3 separate regions of the Homo sapiens genome follow, and all the other regions are linked to region 2. Evidence: promoter capture Hi-C in human tissues and cell types (Jung and others, 2019). All regions are on one chromosome and are shown on one strand. Each heading gives the region's core, a stretch centred on a gene start or on the middle of the fragment in contact. The rest is flanking DNA. Distances are from core to core; before and after follow the strand shown.

Region 1 (3,291 bases), core at 299-2,798, 360 kb before region 2:
GAATGAACACACAATCCAAAGGCTTGGAGAAAGCATTTACAGATCACATATCTGATAAAGGACTTGTATCCAGAATATGCAACAAACTCCCAAACTCAATAATAAGAAAATAAACAACCCAATTAAAAGTGAGTAAAAGATTTGAACTCAACGCTTACTACAGGAGATGGAGAATAAACAGATGAAATGATGCTCAACATCATTGGCCAACAGGGAAACGCAAATTAAAACCACAGTTCCATCTATCACCACACACCTATTAGAGTATTTGAAATTAAAAAGACAAACCATACCAAGTGCTGGGGAGGATGTGGAATGTAAAACCATACAATCGCTTTGGCAGTTTCTTAAAAAGTTTCACATATGGCTACCGTGGCATCCAGCCACTCCACTCCTAGACATCTATTCAAGAGAAAGAAAAGCATTCATCCAAAGACTTGTGCACAATGTTCGGATCAGCTTTATCTGTAAGAGCCAACACCAGAAACAACCCAAATGCCCACCAGCAGGTGAATGGACACAAACTGTGGTACATTCATACACTGGAGTACCATGCAGCTGTAAAAGAAATACGCATTGACAAACCAAATGACGCAGGCAAATCTCAAAAATAATTGTGCTGAGTGAAAGAAGCTACACAAAAAGTACATATTATATGATTCCATTTGTGCAAATCATAGGAAATGCAAAGTAATCAGTAGTGACAGAATGCAGATCAGTGCTTGCCTGGGGATGAGGGAGGGCAGGGAGAGATGACCAAGAGGGAACCCGGGGTGTTCACTATGCTGATTGTGGTGATGGTTTCACAGGAGTATCCGAGTGTTAAAACGTACCAAATTGAAATATGTGGCTTACCGTCTGTCAATTACACCACAATAAGGCTACTTTTTGAAAACCATGAGGATGGCTCAGGTCCGGCTCAAATGCCCCCACCCTGCGTTCCTTCCTTGGGATGTCAGACGCTGGAGCTGGAGCAGAAGGGGACCTAGATGGGCGGAGATCTAGCCCTACTCACCCACTGGCCACGGGGTAGGCGAGGGACGCTCAGCAGGGGCTTCCCGCAGACCCAGGGTCTTCAAGCCCCAGAAGTCCTGATGCCAGAGGGAAGAGGGGATTTGCCCAGAGTGAGGGGCAGGGGCTGGACCCACAGCCCCTCCCGGCGCGCAGACCCCGCCCCCACCCATAACCACGCCCTCAGCCCCCACCACCTCGTCCTCAGCCCCACAACCACGCCCCCAGCATGCCACAATTACTCCCACAACCCGCCCACAGCCCCTGCGACCTGGGTCTTAGTACCAGCTCCATCTAAAGCCGCACCACCGGCCCCTCCCATGCCCCTCCCATGCCCCTCCCCCATCTCTTCCAGGCCCCGCCCTGCCGCAGAACCCGCCCTCAAGCCCCGCCCCCGCCTAACCACAAATCCCGTTCCGGTCTCCTTACATGCCCCGCCCCTTCCCCGCCCCCGCGGGGAATCGACACAGCCTGTCTCCGCCTTTCGCCCCGCCCCCTCCAGGCCCCGCCCCACCCCGCCCCTCGCCCGCGCAGGCCGGAGTCGCGGCCTCCCCAGCTAGTGGTCGCGGGCGCGGTCGCAGGGGCAGCGGGGTGGCCGCCGCGCCAGGCGTGGAGCTGGGTCTGGCGGGCTCCGAGAGGCCCGGGAGCGGCGCGCAGAGCAGCCTCCGGCCGCCGCCGCGCAGGTAAAGCCCCCGCCCAGCCCTGGGAGCGTGGATTCCCACCCACCCCATGACCATCCCCCCGCCGCGAGTGCTGGGGTCTCGGGGGTCCCAGGTTCCGGGGGTCCTAGGGCCGGAGGGTCTAAAGGCTGGAGGTCCTGGGGGTCCGAGCCTCTCCCGGCCGGCTCCGCGCGCGGCCCCGCCGTCCACGCCCAGCGCGGGCCGCGCGCACAGGGCTTGGCTTCTCTGTTTTCTCGGTTTCCTTCTTCAGGCAGTTGAAAGAAAAGGCGCGGTTCTGTGCCCGGTGCGAGCCGCGGCTCCTTTAGGGCTGGCAGGGAAGGGCTTGCTGGGTTATGACAGTTTTTAGGGGTTGTCGGAGTCAGCCAGGCGTTGGCTGCTGGAGTAGCCCCTGGCGCGCGAGCGCCCGCTGGTGCCCGGCCACGTGCCCAGCTTGACCCGCGCTCCAGGTTCGGGAGAAGCTGCAGCCGTCACCGTCCTCCTGGCGTCCACCCTGAGGAGGGAGGGGCTGGGTGGTCCAAGCCGCCGCCACTCCGCCGCCCGGCCTTTGGTCCCCAGCGGTGCTGTAGGTGGCCAGGGGTGGCCGCAGTGACCACCCACTGGGCCATGCGGAGCCCCCTGGCAGTGCCAGCTCCCTGCACTTGTGGGACGCTCCTCCCGGGCGCATTGGGAGTCTCCAGAAGTAAGTTACAGGCAGAGCTGTTTAAGGAGGCGTGCTCCCCACCCCAGACCCTTCAGTGGGCCCTCAACACCCTCCCCACCAGTGGACGCGTTTCCCAGGTGACCGCAGCCGGCAGTGCTGACCACCCTCCCTCCCTCTCCGCTCCCTCCTGCGTCTTCCCTTTCAGAGCTGCCAGAGTGGACTGCACTGCTTCTCCCAGCGGGGCAGGATGGCGGTTTCATGTCTGGTTGGATAAGGCCTTGCCTGCGGAAACCAGCTCCATCCCCAGGCCCTAGCAGAGGCTCGCGTGTCCCCGTCCCCAGGTCAGGTCAGGATGGGCACCGTGCGCCCACCTCGCCCCTCGCTCCTGCTGGTCTCCACCCGGGAGTCTTGTCTCTTCCTCCTCTTCTGCCTGCACCTGGGCGCCGCCTGCCCACAGCCCTGCCGGTGCCCTGACCACGCAGGGGCTGTGGCTGTCTTCTGCAGCTTGCGGGGCCTTCAGGAGGTCCCCGAGGACATCCCGGCCAACACCGTGCTCCTGAAGCTCGATGCCAACAAGATCTCCCACCTCCCGGACGGGGCCTTCCAGCACCTGCACCGGCTCAGGGAGCTGGATCTGTCTCACAACGCCATCGAGGCCATCGGCTCCGCCACCTTCGCGGGCCTGGCCGGGGGCCTGCGGCTGCTGGACCTGTCTTACAACCGCATCCAGAGGATCCCCAAGGACGCCCTGGGCAAACTCAGCGCCAAGATACGCCTGTCCCACAACCCCCTGCACTGCGAGTGCGCCCTGCAGGAGGCCCTGTGGGAGCTGAAGCTGGACCCCGACTCTGTGGACGAGATCGCCTGCCACACCTCAGTGCAGGAGGAGTTTGTGGGGAAGCCTCTGGTTCAGGCTCTGGATGCGGGTGCCAGCCTCTGCAGCGTCCCCCACAGGACCAC
Region 2 (3,294 bases), core at 577-3,076:
CCTACAAAAACATAAAGGACATTTATATTTGACCTAGTTTTAACAAGTATTTAAATATTCAAACAACCCCAGAGTGGGAGAACTTTGACTTCACTGGAGTCAAAATGTAAAAAGCAAAGGTCACCCCAAATGCCATCTGGATAGGGCAGGTTTCCCTGGAGTCTGACCACAGCAAGCAGAGTGCAGACTTCCATAGAGGCCGCGACCATGGTTCCTGACGGTTCCATCCCACTTCCCGCCAGTGTCTGGCACTGAGCCTCCACCCTCATCTGTAAAGGGAGGGTGGTCACCTCCAGGACCAGGCCAGTATCAGAGACAGCCTCTTTACAGAGCCTTCAGCTCTAGTCATCTTCCACTGGGATGTAACATAGAGGCCGACAGTGCACACCAAGGGCTTCGGAAAGGTTCTCTTTTTATGAACACTGGAGAATGCGACTACAGACCCTCCCGAGAAGGAATGGCCAGTGCACCTGAATGCAGGGTGCATACCCCAGGACTGAGACTGGAGGGAGGCACACCCCAGCATGGCAATGGGGGAGACTAAAGCCCACCCAAGGCTGGATAAGGAGGGGTGGGCGCGCATGGTGGGGGAGGCGCAATGCAGAGAAGTGGGCGCACACCGTGGGGCGTGATAGGGAGGGGTGGGCACACACTATAGGGGGCGTGATGGGGAGGGGTGGGCGCACATCGTGGAGGGGGTGATGGGGAGGGGTGGACGCACACTGGGGGTGTGATGGAAAGGGGGACGCGATGGATAGGGGTGGGCGCACACTGGGGGACGCGACGGGGAGGGGTGAGCACACACTGGGGGTGTGATGGAGAGGGCGACGCAATAGGGAGGGGTGGGCGCACACCAGGGACGCGATGATGGGGACGGGTGGGCGCACACCAGGTGGCATGATGGGGAGGAGTGGGTACACACCATGGGGGGCGTGATGGGGAGGCGTGGGCGTACACCGGGGGGCGCGATGGGGAGGGGTGGGCGCACACCGGGGGACGCGATGGAGGCGGTGGGTGCACACGGGGCGCGATGGGTGGGAGTAGGTGCACACTGAGGGCACGATTGGGGAGACACGAAGGAGAGGGGTGGGCGCACACTGGGGGACGCGATGGCCGGGACACGATGCGGAGAAGTGGGTGAATACCGGGGTCGCGATGGGCGCCCTGGAAGGACGGCAGTGCTGCTCACAGGGGCCAGGCCCCTCAGAGCGCGCCCCTTGGGGGTAACCCCAGACGCTTGTTCCCGAGCCGACTCCGTGCACTCGACACAGGATCCCGCACCCAGGGCGATGCCGGGGGAGAGGGCGACCCCAACCAGCAATGACTCAGGAGAGGAGCACGCAAAGACGCTTCGGGGACACTGCTGGGGCGGGATCCGAGGGCGCCGCGCTCTGCAGGAGCAGCAGCGCGGGGCCCGACACCGGGCGCTCAAGGAGGCGCTGGGCGCGCGCCTTCCCAGCTGGGGAGGAGACGGGCGTGGAGCGGAGGCGTGGCCAGGCCCGGAGGGGGCGGAGCTCGCGGCACAGCGCGCTTCGCGGGGGCAGAGGGGGCGCACCTTGGGCGGGCCCACTTAGGGGCGGGGCTCTAGAGGGCGGGGAGGGGCGGAGCCTGTCAGGGGCGGGACGCGGGGCGGAGTCGGGGTGGGGGCGGAGCCGGGCTGGGGGCGGGACGCCCGCGATAGACGCGCGTGCAGGCGGGGTCGCCGCGCTTACCTTGGGCTTCTCCTCGGACATGGCTGCGCGAGCGGCGCGGGGAGGCGGCGCGGGGGAAGCAGCGCGGAGCGGGCGAGTCACGCTCTCGGCCCCGCCGCTCTCCCGCCGCAACTGTGCGCGGGGCCGCGCTTTATCCCCCAAATCCCGGCGCACCCGTTGGCCGGCACGGGGGTCACGTGGCTGCGCGCGTTCACGAGGCGCGCTCCCCGGGGCGTCGGGCGCGCGCAGGCCGGGCCGCGGCTCTGGGCGGTTGGAGATGCGTCACGGGGCGGGTCCCGCGCGACCCCGTCGGGCGCGGAAGCCCTAGGGCGCTGTGGGGCGCGGGCCAGGAGCGTTTACGGGGAGCCCGGGCCCTGGGGACCCTTGCCCGCCTCCCCGCGTCGCCCGGGCCCCGACTCCTTTCCTGGGGGCCGCGTTCCTGGGGCGCCGGGAAGTGAGGCCGGGGCCGCCGCCCATGGCCGCAGGGACCTGGGGCGGAGGAGGGAGGACGCTGGGGGTGACGTTCCCTCTCAGGAGCCGCGGACAGAGCGGAGAAGGCGGCCCGCGGGGTCCCGTCCGCGGGGGCCGCGCGAATCGGGCCAGCACCCTAGACGATTGGGGGCGCCACCCGCCTCCCTGCCGCCGCGGTTTCCTGTCAGCCCCAGGCCGGGCTCCTTTGGCCAACGCTCCTACGGGGCTGCCCCGGGCCCTCCACACCCGTCCTCAAGAAGACCCGTTTTACCTGTGAAGAAACTGAGGCACTGGGAGGTCAAACCACCCCCAGGTCAGCGCTGGTGAGCGGCGCCGAGCTTGGCCAGGCCGCCACGTCGGCGAGCGCGGGCAAACCCAGGCTGGACGCCGCCAGTGCCGGCGGAACGGGGACCTCGTGGACGCGGGAAACGCGCTGGGCCGGCAGGACGGCCTCCCCGGACTTGCGGGCGCCATTCCTGGGGTGCCTGGCCCGCCCCGGCCTCCATGTCTGTGATCCCAGGGCCTCGGATGGAACGGACCTGAGGGCGGACACCCCTGCGTCCCTCAGGAGTGCCCGGGTGGTGCCAGCCGGGGCGTGGCGGAGGTCTCATCTGATGGTGAGCCCGGCCGAAGGCGGGGGAGGCCGCACTTCAGGCTCAGCTGGGAAATGGCAGGGCCTGGATTTGAACCTAAGCGTCTGAGCCGTTTCTGTCCTGCCTGGGAAAGGCTCAGCCAACTGAGCAACGTCGCAAAGCCATGGAGACAAGTCTTCATGGACCATAACTTCACAAACCGTCTTCTACTCAAAAATTCACTTTCTTGGCTAGAGCCCCCACTTAGGAGGGGGAAGGCTGCTGAAGTCTTTCGGGGAGAGGGTCTGAGAGTCAGCCCCAGTCCCAGGCAGGTCATAAGGTGTGGTCCCTTCCTTCTGGAACCTGGAGCCCAGGGCCTCAGCAGAGGATGTGGAGGTGGGTGGCCAGCTCAGACGGTCCTGGGAGGGGGCTCCGCAACCAGCCCCTTCCGAGGGGACGTGGCGCCTCAGAGCCCACAGATTGCTGGCCCTGGAAGTGCCCTAGGGCAGGCAGGGTTCAGAGAGTTATCGACTCCAAGACACCGTTAATCATAAAACAAC
Region 3 (3,460 bases), core at 56-2,555, 430 kb before region 2:
CAAGATGTCTTTGAAGAGCAGGAGGCTTAAAATTTTTTTTTTTTTTTTTGAGATGGAGTCTCGCTCTGTTGCCCAGGCTGGAGTGCAGTGGCGCGATCTCGGATCATTGCAAGTTCCGCCTCCTGGGTTCACACCATTCTCCAGCTTCAGCCTCCCAAGTAGCTGGGACTACAGGTGTCCACCACCACGCCTGGCTAATTTTTTGTATTTTTAGTAAAGACAGGGTTTCGCCGTGTTAGCCAGGATGGTCTCGATCTCCTGACCTCATGATCCACCCGCCTTGGCCTCCCAAAATGCGGGATTACAGGTGTGAGCCACCTCGCCCAGCCAATTTAATCAATTTTTCTTTATGGTTCATGTTCTTTGTGTCATAGCTAAGAGATCTCTGCCCATCCCAAGGTTGCAGATATTTTCTTCTGTTTTCTGACGGCAGTTTTGTAGACATAGCCTTTATGTTTGGGCCTAAGAACCGCTCCATGTTGATTCTTGTGTATGGTGTGAGGTAAGGGTCAAAGTTCTTTTTTCTTTTTCCCCAAATAACAACCCATGTTTTAAAAAGTTAAACCAGAAAGGGAACACAGAAACTACTTGAGCAAAATAACTTGTCCTGAGAACCAGTGAGGTGGTTGTTACTGTTGAACATTTACAGGCAGTTGAGGCAGGAAAGGAAATGTGATGGCTTCTGAGTCCTGAGTTTTGGATGTTAGTGTAAGATGCCTGCCCTCCAGAGACCTATGTCTTCTTAAAACAGTGAGGCCCTTTTCTTGCTTACTGCCCACCTGTCGCTTAGGGGCCAGGGCATGGCCAGGAGGAGGGCAGGGGAAACAGGAGTGAGTGGACGTGATGACCAAAGCCCCAAGATTCACTGATTCTGACTCCGAAATGGAACATGCTTTTGCAAGGCTGTGTGTATGGGAGGAGGTCACTGGGTGCTGCGCCTGTCACTTTGAATTGTTGAGAGGCAAGGGCTCATGACACATCCCTGACTCTGACATCATTTCCCTGGAGGGAAATGGCTTTGAGCTCCAGATCGAGGCCCAATATGCACCTGTTCATCTGCAGCCTCACGGAGCCAAGACCACTTTGGCCACGAGAACTGGGACCACCAGCTGAAACTGGCAGTGGCATGGAATCGCGTGGACATTGCCCGCAGTGAGATCTTCATGGATGAGTGGCAGTGGAAGGTAAGTCTTCCAGAGCACCCCGTGGAGGGGCCTACTGGGCCCACATGCATTGCACCACTGAAGCAAGGGCAGGCAAAGTTCGCATTGTCTGGATCCCAGCCCTTCCCTTGAGGGTGGGTGACCTGGGCAGCTTTCATCCTCCCCAGGTTGGGGACAACAGCAGCCCCCATCTCCAGGGTCTTTGAGATCAGGATGACATGGGGTGATGACCAAATGCAACCGTCACTGCACAATGCTTGCTCTCAGCCTTCAGATCTGCACCCCACGATGACAGCTGCACTCATCTCCAACAAGCCTGAGTTTGTGAAGCTCTTCCTGGAGAACGGGGTGCAGCTGAAGGAGTTTGTCACCTGGGACACCTTGCTCTACCTGTACGAGAACCTGGACCCCTCCTGCCTGTTCCACAGCAAGCTGCAGAAGGTGCTGGTGGAGGATCCCGAGCGCCCGGCTTGCGCGCCCGCGGCGCCCCGCCTGCAGATGCACCACGTGGCCCAGGTGCTGCGGGAGCTGCTGGGGGACTTCACGCAGCCGCTTTATCCCCGGCCCCGGCACAACGACCGGCTGCGGCTCCTGCTGCCCGTTCCCCACGTCAAGCTCAACGTGCGTGCTGGTAACGGGGCCCATCCTGGACTCGTCTTCGCGGGCTACTGCTATGTTCTTAGAGCTCTCTGTTTTTAAAATTAGCTTTTATTTTTATTAGAAAAGACACATGCTCTATCTTAGGCTGCTTGGGCTGCTGTAACAAAATTCCACAGATGGGGCAGAAACTACCAGTTTATTTTCTCGAAGTTCTGGAAGCCCGAAGTCCCAGATTAAGGCACCAGCAGGGCTGGCTTCTGGCCAGGGCCTCTTCTTGCTTGCACGTGGCTGCCCTCTTGCTGTGTCTTCACGTGACAGAGAGAGAAGTCTCTGGTGCCACTTCCTCTTCTTTTTCTTTTATTTATTTTTTATTTTTTTGAGACAGGGTCTCACTCTGTCGTCCAGGCTGGAGTGCAGTGGCGTGATCTTAGCTCACTGCAGCCTCAACCTCCCAGGCTCAAGCAATCCTCCCACCTCAGCCTCCCAAGTAGCTGGGACTACAGGTATGCGCCACCACACCTGGCTAATTTTTTATTTTTTTGTAGAGATGGTTTTGCTATTTTGGACAGGTTGGTCTCAACCTCCTGGCCTCAAGTGATCCGCTCTCCTCACCCTCCAAAAGGCTGGAATTTACACCCTCCAGCCACCGTGCCTTGTCTATTTTTATGTTTGAGACAGGGTCTGGCTCTGTGACCCAGGCTGGAGTGCAGTGGTGCAATCATGGCTCACCGTACCTTCCACCTCCCAGGCTCAAGCAATCCTCCTGCCTCCGTCTCTTGAGTAGCTGGGACTATAGGCATGTGCCACCACACCCAGCTTTTTTTTTTTTTTTATAATATTTTGTTGAGATGGGGTCTCATTATATGGCCCAGGCTGGTCTCAAACTCCGGGGCTCAAGTGATCCTCCTGTCTTGGCCTCCCAAATTGCTGGCATTGCAAGTGTGAGCCTCCGCACCTGGCCTCACCCCTCTTTTTATAAAGAGAACACACCTATCCACTTAGGAACCCACAATGTGGCCTCGTTTAACCTTAATTACCTTCTTAAAGGCCCTATCTCCAAATGCTATAGTCACACTGGGGGTTAGGGCTTCAACATATGAATTTTAGGGGGGACAGAGTTGCGTCCATAACATACCCTTTCTAAAAGTTCCAAACAGTACAAAAGGTTCTGCAGGGAGCGTGATCCCCCTGCCCTGAGCCCCACTGCTGCCCACTGTGTATGCTGGTTTTTTCCGACAGTCAGGTCAGTAACATTCCACCGTATTTTTGTGAGATGCCCAGGGTGCACTGCAGCTGTGGGAGAGTGGATGCTGTAGTCTGCACCCTGTGATTCAATGGGAGCCCTGCTCTAGTCTCACCTTTATTTAATGGTGAGACTGCCCCAGTCTCCAACCTTATTCAAGGGAACCCTGCTCTAATCTCCACCCTTATCCAATGGGAACCCTGCTCTAATCTCCACCCTTATTCAATAGGAACCCTGCCCTAGTCTCCACCCTGATTCAGTGGGAACCCTGCCGTAATCTCCACCCTGATTCAATGAGAATCCTGCCCTAGTCTGTTTACCCTTTTTCAGTGGGAACCTTGCAGTGACTCAATGTCAGGAATGATGCTGGATTTTGTATTTGTATTTCCTCTTGGGAGTATTTATCTCTGATTCATTAAGGTTTTACAAAGCAAAGCATCGATGCCTTTGAGAA

Evidence for each region. The method cuts DNA at HindIII sites, captures the fragments that hold promoters and counts their contacts. A contact is called where the count stands out against the background at its distance.
Region 1: a contact is called between the fragment with the promoter of LRRC3 here and the fragment with the promoter of SUMO3 in region 2, in 1 of the 25 tissues and cell types used here (spleen).
Region 3: a fragment that was not itself captured here is called in contact with the fragment with the promoter of SUMO3 in region 2 in 1 of the 25 tissues and cell types used here (lymphoblastoid cells).

The regions. Positions count from the first base shown.
Region 1 is chr21:44,453,962-44,457,252 of GRCh38, forward strand. It overlaps LRRC3 (leucine rich repeat containing 3), which reads left to right and starts at 1,549. Exons shown (of 2, transcript NM_030891.6): 1 at 1,549-1,694; 2 at 2,537-3,291. The coding sequence starts at 2,684. LRRC3-DT (LRRC3 divergent transcript) reads right to left here and starts at 1,323. Exons shown (of 4, transcript NR_047476.1): 1 at 1,283-1,323; 2 at 1,016-1,091. RefSeq lists an enhancer at 546-1,046 and silencers at 1,210-1,389, 1,478-1,907. The HindIII fragment of the contact is 13,764 bases long and covers 1-3,291 here.
Region 2 is chr21:44,816,236-44,819,529 of GRCh38, forward strand. SUMO3 (small ubiquitin like modifier 3) reads right to left here and starts at 1,827. Exons shown (of 4, transcript NM_006936.3): 1 at 1,713-1,827. The coding sequence starts at 1,733. RefSeq lists silencers at 1,359-1,558, 1,739-2,318, 2,339-2,438. The HindIII fragment of the contact is 28,474 bases long and covers 1-3,294 here.
Region 3 is chr21:44,389,842-44,393,301 of GRCh38, forward strand. TRPM2 (transient receptor potential cation channel subfamily M member 2) reads left to right here. Exons shown (of 32, transcript NM_003307.4): 10 at 1,063-1,184; 11 at 1,431-1,784. Among named protein-coding and RNA genes, the nearest start is that of TRPM2-AS, 34 kb to the right of the region's middle. The HindIII fragment of the contact is 4,893 bases long and covers 1-3,460 here.